2 separate regions of the Homo sapiens genome follow, and region 2 is linked to region 1. Evidence: promoter capture Hi-C in human tissues and cell types (Jung and others, 2019). All regions are on one chromosome and are shown on one strand. Each heading gives the region's core, a stretch centred on a gene start or on the middle of the fragment in contact. The rest is flanking DNA. Distances are from core to core; before and after follow the strand shown. Region 1 holds the start of ADAMTS8 (ADAM metallopeptidase with thrombospondin type 1 motif 8). Region 2 has its middle 86 kb from the start of LINC02873.

What was found. Contacts are between HindIII fragments. The study calls those that stand out against the background at their distance.
Region 2: a contact is called between a fragment that was not itself captured here and the fragment with the promoter of ADAMTS8 in region 1, in 1 of the 25 tissues and cell types used here (liver).

The regions. Positions count from the first base shown.
Region 1 is chr11:130,426,927-130,430,353 of GRCh38, forward strand. ADAMTS8 (ADAM metallopeptidase with thrombospondin type 1 motif 8) reads right to left here and starts at 1,683. Exons shown (of 9, transcript NM_007037.6): 1 at 641-1,683. The coding sequence starts at 1,360. The HindIII fragment of the contact is 15,783 bases long and covers 1-3,427 here.
Region 2 is chr11:130,756,805-130,760,811 of GRCh38, forward strand. No RefSeq gene overlaps it. Among named protein-coding and RNA genes, the nearest start is that of LINC02873, 86 kb to the left of the region's middle. RefSeq lists an enhancer at 1,866-2,454. The HindIII fragment of the contact is 6,683 bases long and covers 1-4,007 here.

The sequences.
Region 1 (3,427 bases), core at 433-2,932:
TGGCATTGCCAAGTTCTGCCGGGGCTGAGCGCCAGGTTGGCAAGGTAGTCCATGCCCCATTGATCACAACCAGCTGGCTGCACAGAAGTTGGGCAGCCCCTCTCCAGGTTCAGCTCCTTTCAAACAATGTCTTTTGCTTATGGCGACCTCCATACCCAAGGGAATCAGACAGCCATCTCTCTCCATCCCATCTGCCTTTCCCTGGGAGCCTCTCAGATCTGGAGGCAGTAGAGGGCTGAGGGGTGGGAGTGGGAGCTATTCGTAAACGCTCAATTTTCATCTCTGCTGGGAGAGGCAGGTGCCGGGGAATGCGTTGATACCCACTTTCGGGTCAGTGCGCCACGTGCCGCGGGAGATTCGGATGAGAGGGATGGGCGTCGGCAGCCCCACTCTAAACTGGAAGGGACCTGGGGGTGGGGGCGCAGGGATCCAGGGTGGCAGAAGTTCAGAAAAGAGTTACTGCTCTTTCTCAGACAGGAGAGAATCTCGTTTGGGGTAAGGCTGGAGAAGATGAGTGGGGAGGGCTTTTTTTTTTTTTTTTTTTTTTTCTCAGAGGGATTGGAAGGGGAGATTTTAGAGACGCTGGGAGGCGTCTGGGGGGCCTCCGGGCACGGCGGCTGGAGGAGGCTCTCAGTCCTACCTGCAGGTCGGCCCCGTAGAAGGCAGCCATGGACGCATCGGCCACCAGCAGCGTCTCCACGAAGCGCGCCTCAGACACAAACCGCTTGGTCCTACTCGTGGCCCCCAGGGGCGGTGGCGGCTCGCTAGCGCCTTCTGCCTCCTCTTCTTGGCTCTCCTCCTCGCTGTCCTCCTGGTGGTCTCCTCTCTCCTGCCTCTGACCCTCTCCCGTCTCCACCTCCCACTCGGGTCCTCGCGGGAGGGGGCGGGCTCCGGCGGGACCCCAGCGCTGCAGGCGGTGCGGCTGAGCCAGGGAGCCCCCCGCGCCCTGCGGCTGGATGGTGAACTCCTCGCCGTCCAGCAGGAAGGAGCCGCTCAGCCCGCGGCACAGGCTGACCGCCGCCAGCGACTCGGGCTCCCCATTCACGGTGCCGGAGAAGAAGCAGCCGCGCAGCCCCCGCTCGCCCCCGGTCGCCCGGCCGGAGCCCCCGAGGCGCTCGATCTTGAACTCGGGCGCTAGGAAGCTGTCGTCGGGCGCCAGGCGCAGCACGAAGCCCTTGCCGAAGGCGGACAGGTGGAGCGCGAGCTCGCCCGCGCTGCCGGGCAACCGCGTGGGCACCACCAGCTCCGAGGCCTGCCCCCCGGCTGCGGGCCGGGCCGGGGCGCCGCGGGCCAGCGGCAGCAGCAGCAGCAGCAGCAGCAGGAGCGGAGGCCACCGGGGGGCGGCGGGGGCGGGGAGCATGGGGGCTGCGGCGGTGGCTGCGCGCAGGAGAGGGAAGAAGCCCGCCAGGCGCGGGCAGGTGCTGGCGGCCCGAGCGCGGCCCGGCCGCTCTCTCCAGGAAAAGCGGAATCAATCGGGTGCAAGGCCGACTCGGCCCGCGGGGCCCGGCGGCGGGAGCGCTCCCCCGGCGGCCCCTCTGGCTGGCGCAGCCCGCTCCTCCCGCGCCGCCGCCCCCGAGCCGAGCGCGAGCAGCTGGCCCCGGCCCGCGTGCGCCCGTCCTCCGCCCCTGCCCGCGCCAGCCCCGCGCAGCCGCCTCCTGCCTCCTCCCCACCCCGGGAAGCACCGAGTGGGCTGCCGAGCCCTTCTTATTTATACTTCCTTCCCGGCTTGACATAAGAGGTTTATTTTTGATCTCTCACTATTCCCGTTTCCCCTCCCCTGGGATCAGAGAGAGAAACTGAAAAGAGGGAGAGAGAGTGGAGAAAAAAAAATTGGGATGAAATGCAAAACCAATCAGGCAGCGAGACCCGTCCGCCACCCGCCCCCCTGAAGTGTCAACTACAACTTCTTTCCTTTCCCTCTACGCGTGGACCCACGTTAACCCCTACCATGCTGGACTGACCCTTTAGAAAGAGTCCCTGGGAGACCCCAACCGCTTTCTCCTCTGCGGCCAAGAGTCCAGGATGCATCTTCCGAAGAGGCTCGTGCACTGGTCTCAGCGACCCTGTTCGGATCCCTGCAGAGTCCGACTGCAGAGCCCGACACTGTTGGGATCCCTGCAGATGCCTCCGGAGATCCGACTGTGTGGGGAGAAGGTTCCTGAGCTTTTCATTGTAAAGCATAAAGGGAGAGGAGGAAAAGGTCATGCTAAAATCATGCCCTCCTCTCATCACTACTGCACAGCCTTCCTAACTTTCACTCCAAACTGAAGATGGGGAAAACAAAAACAAAACAAAAAACAACCCACCTGGTTAACCCTAAGAGGGACTCTCACTGTCCTGTTAGAGGGCAGGTGGGGCAGAGGCCAGCACAGTGGTAAGTTACCAGCACTGAGGTTGGAAGTTAGCATTTCCCCAAGAGGGAAACAGACCTCCAGTCCCTGAAAAAGGTCTTCTCTTCTGGATACTGCTAGTTGCCCGGGACTTCAAGTAAGGTGGCAGGCCCTTTCACTGCGTTGCCACAGCCCCAGGAACAAATGTGTATGAGGTGAATTTATTCTGTCCCATGTCACCACTGCCCCCTAGGGAAGGGGGTAGTATTCAGGAAGAGAGGGATGACATGGTCTCAAGACCACAAAACTGCATCCCATCCCAGTCTCAATGACACAGGTCTGGATTGGGTGGAGGGCCCTGTTCTCTACCTACAAACTCTAGACTCATCCACCAACTGTGCCTTTCTCTGAGTTGTCAATGTGGGTGATGCATTAGGAACCGCTGGGATCAGGGCCTTTAAATCCTTTGCCAATTCACCTGCCCCCAGGTACCCAGCTCTGTGCTTATGCTGGGGATGTTGACAGTCGAGGTCATCGCTGATTCTTTTCAGCCCATCTGACCCCTTCCTGCAGTGTGGTGGTTCAGCATGCATCTGAGACTCTCAGGGCTTGTTACCTCCAAAGAGGAGGCTCTTGCCCAGGGGAAAGTGCTGCCAAATTCCCTCTAAGTATCCCCCCTCTCTTTGCTTTCTCAGAAACACAGAGGGACAGCTGTGAATTAGATGAAAGGATGAACTTCCCAACCTAGCATGGTGCAGAACCTCCTTTCCTGCATAATTTATAGGATAGGAATAACGAGTCTAGAATGTTTTGGGGAAACACTTCTAGAGGAAGGACAATGGAAAGAATGGTCTCTTCAACCCTTTTCTCAAAACAAGCAAAACACTTCGTCCTAGCACAGTGTACAGTGCTTGGGACATCCTGTACAGTGCTTGGGACAGTCTGACCTGGGCAAGCAATGAATACAACTCTGTGTTGCCTCAGGGCTATTGTAACAGTTCAATGACTGGTTTTTACCTCCTTGAAGCCCCTTATTTGCTGTTTCCCAGAGTACAACTCCTGATTTTCTCTTTTTGAGACACAGTCTCACTTTGTCA
Region 2 (4,007 bases), core at 39-2,538, 330 kb after region 1:
GTCAGTCAGAGAACCTTGGGCCAGAGTTCCAGGGGCGCTGGGAGTGGCTGCCAGGTGAGTTGAACAGTCCGATTTCCAGTGGGGTCCTGCACAGATGGGACATGGCTTAGGAGGAATCCTGGGCTGCGGGCATTCCTTGGCCTGGTGGTCAGATTTCTGGCACTTGTAGCAAGCTCCTGGAGGAGGTTCTGGAGGAACGCCTGGCCGCTGCGGTTCAGGCGTTTGGAAGTTCTTGTGTGCTGGAGATGTGGCTGGGGTTTGTCTCACAGTGGAGGCAAGGAATTGCAACTTTTTTCTATTATTGTACACCTTGAAGGCGAGGTTCATTAAATCCTGTGTGGGGTTTGAGGGCCGGAATTTAATTTTTGGAGTTTTATTTAATGTCGGGAGCAGATTGGGTAATAAAATGTATATTGAGAATAAGACGGCCTTTTGACCTTTTAGGGTTTAGGGCTGTAAAGCCTCTCAGGGTTGCTGCCAAACTAGCCATGAACTGGGCTGGGTTTTTATATTTGATGAAAAAGAGCCTAAACGCTATCTGATTTGGGATAAAGAAAAAGGAGCGTTAAACTTGACTATGCCTTTGGCTCCAGCCACCTTTTTAAGGGTAAATTGCTGGGCAGGTGGGGGAGGGCTAGTCACGGAATGAAACTGTAAGCCAGACCAGGTGTGAGGAGGGGAGGCGATAAAAAGATTACAGGGTGCAGGAGCGGAGGCTGAGGAAGAATTGGGACTTAGCTTGAGCTGGCGAGGAGAGGAGAGGTCAGATGGGTCTGTAGAAAAGGAAGATTAGAAAGACTCAGCGACGCTTGGGGTTGGGACTGAGGGGACAGGCGGGAGGGAAAGAAGGAAGATTTGGGACGAGTTGCACTGGGCACAGAGACTAGGAAGGGACAGATGTGTAAAAGAATGCCTGGACGTCAGGCACCTCAGAACATTTGCCCATTTTACGACAAGAATTATTTAGATCTTGCAGGATGGAAAAATTGAAAGTGCCATTTTCTGGCTATTTGGAACTACTGTCGAGTTTGTATTGGGGTCAAGTGGCATTGCAGAAGAAAATAAGGCATTTAGGTTTTAGGTCAGGTGTGAGTTGAAGAGGTTTTAAGTTTTTGAGAACACAGGCTAAGGGAGAAGAAGGAGGAATGGAAGGTGGAAGCTTGCCCATAGTGAAGGAGGCAAGCCCAGACAAAAGAGTAGAGACATGGAGTAGGGGTGGGGGGTTCTTGCCCTCCAGAAAAGCAGAGAAGGGGTTGGGGCACGGAAATAAGGGATTGGGGCGCAGAGATAAGAGGTTGGGGTGTGGAAATAAGCGATTGGGGGGTTCTTGCCCCCTAGGAAAGCGGGACTTGCCGCTGAGGGTGAAGGAGAAGGGGTTGAGGGGTACTTGCCCCTGCCCCAGGAAAGCAGGACTTGCCGCTGAGGGTGAAGAAGGGGTTGAGGGGTACTTGCCCCTGCCCCAGGAAAGCAGGACTTGCCGCTAAGGGTGAAGGACCGAGGCAGGCGTCCCTGCAAAGATTAAACACCAAGGGAAGGCTGCCTTCCCAGTCCGTGACCGGCGCCGGAGTTTTGGGTCCACGGATAAAATGCGTCTCCTTTGTCTCTACCAAAGGAATTGAAAGGAATTGAAATTAAGAGAAGGGAGAGATTGAAGTGTGGCACCAAGATTGAAAGGAGAAAGAGGTTGAGGGATAGTGAGGGAGGTTGGAGAAGAGAGTAAAAAGAGGCCACTTACCGGATTTGAAATTGGTGAGATGTTTCTTGGGCTGGTCGGTCTGAGGACCTGAGGTCATAGGTGGATCTTTCTCATGGAGCAAAGAACAAGAGGACGGGGGATTGATCTCCCAAGGGAGGTCCCCTGATCCGAGTCATGGCACCAAATTTCATGCGCGTCCGTGTGAAGAGACCACCAAACAGGCTTTGTGTGAGCAGTAAAGCTGTTTATTTCACCTGGGTGCAGGTGGGCTGAGTCCGAAAAGAGAGTCAGCGAAGGGAGATAAGGGTGGGGCCGTTTTATAGGATTTGGGTAGGTAAAGGAAAATTACAGTCAAAGGGGGTTTGTTCTCTGGTGGGCAGGAGTGGGGGTCTCAAGGTGCTCAGTGGGGGTGCTTTTTGAGCCAGGGTGAGCTAGGAAAAGGACTTTCACAAGGTAATGTCCTCACTTAAGGCAAGGACTGGCCATTTACACTTCTTTTGTGGTGGAATGTCATCAGTTAAGGTGGGGCAGGGCATATTCACTTTGTTTGTGATTCTTCAGTTACTTCAGGCCATCTGGGCATATACATGTAAGTCACAGGGCATGTGATGGCTTGGCTTGGGCTCAGAGGCCTGACTCCTATGAAGTATTATTAAGAAAAAATAAGGTTTGGAAAGCCTATAACTTGTCTATATTAAAATGTCAAATACATAGCAGAGCTGGATTCAAACCCAGGTCTCTTGGAAGACAAAGCCAGTGCTCTTCTGTCCTAACCACCTCCCTTCCAGATCTCAGTGATTTTGTCTTAATTCTCAAACCTCTACATATATGTTTTTCTTCAGTCATGAAGACTAAGATGAGAAATCGCCATTTCTTATCTTTGCATACCTCTGTTATAGTTTTGCAAATCCCGGTACATTCTTGCTTTGCCAGTTTTTCGTTTCTCAACATGCCTAGCCTTGGTTTACTTTGGGTTACTACAAAATGGATTGTTTGCCTGCCCTACGAAGCATTTACTACAACATATATCTCTGACTTTTACTCCTTCTATTGAGATTTTTGTGTGTCCTTTCTGGGTATCTAAATCAGTATGCCTGAATTTGATGTGAACTCCTAGCAGTCAGGTACTGTCTAAAATAGAGGTTCACGTTAGTTTGAAAAACAGTGGAGATATTCTGATTTGGTAAGGAAGACTGAGTGTAAATAGTAGTACCTAGCAATATTGATCAGGCACAAAAATATGGAACTGAGAAACATCCTGATAATGTCAGTTGGGAAGATACAATGATTTATGGAGTGCCTGGAAATCACAAGCTCCTGTATGTGATAGCTTCCAAATGGCTAGTATATATATTTTAAAAAGATAAAACTTATCTTTGGTGAGAATGACTATATGTCAAATGGCTGAAACCATGGATTTGATTTTCTTTTTAATAAGTGGAAATAGAGATGGCAACAAAACTTGCTTCATAACGTCTCCCCAGACTAGTCTTCTTTGGCTAGAAAAATGGATTTTGGAAGGATTTTGGATGTCTTCTCTCCAGTTCTCTTATCTTACAGATAAAATGGAAGCCCAGGGATAGAGTATTTTAGTTACCCCTGAATTTTCTGCACCAAGCAACGTAGCTGGCTCCTAAGAGGTGCCCCAGGAAGTGTGTGGAGGATGACTTGTCAAAGAGCACCCAGTTGAGATCTAGAATTAAAAACCAAGTCTCGGATTTTTCAGGCTGGTGTTAGACTTTCACCCTAAGAGATACGCATGTCTGTTACAGAAATAAAATTATTTCTAGGACCCAGAAAAGCCATTAGCCAATGTGAATGCAGGAGGGGAGAATTACTTCACTACACAGAATAGGGACTCTGGGGACTTTTCCACTTATGTCTTCATGTGGGGTTTTAAATTCCTGAGAGAGCACAAGAGAAGCTGCCCCCAATACGTGGCCCTTATTGAGACACAGAGGGTCTCCTTTGTCCTCATTTTCTTGTGCCGGATGACCTAAAACAAAGATCTCTGAATAGCTCTTCTCTCCAGCCACTCGGGCCCCTGATTCTTCTCTACCATTTCTTTTGAAAATAGTCACTTTCTAAGGGTGACTGTTCCTGAAAGAGACACCCAGGAGGAGGCATGGAGCTGGGCGGTATCACATCCTCGGTTACTATCTCTCCTTCTCTTAGTTGCTCCAGTGTTCTTTCTTCCCACTGGCTCAGCTTGCTATTCCTGGCTACACCCAAGGCTGGACTACTTTGCATTTCTATGGCTTATGCCCACCTGAGTGTATTCAGTTCCTCCCCTTTCTCACCTTTGAGTAGC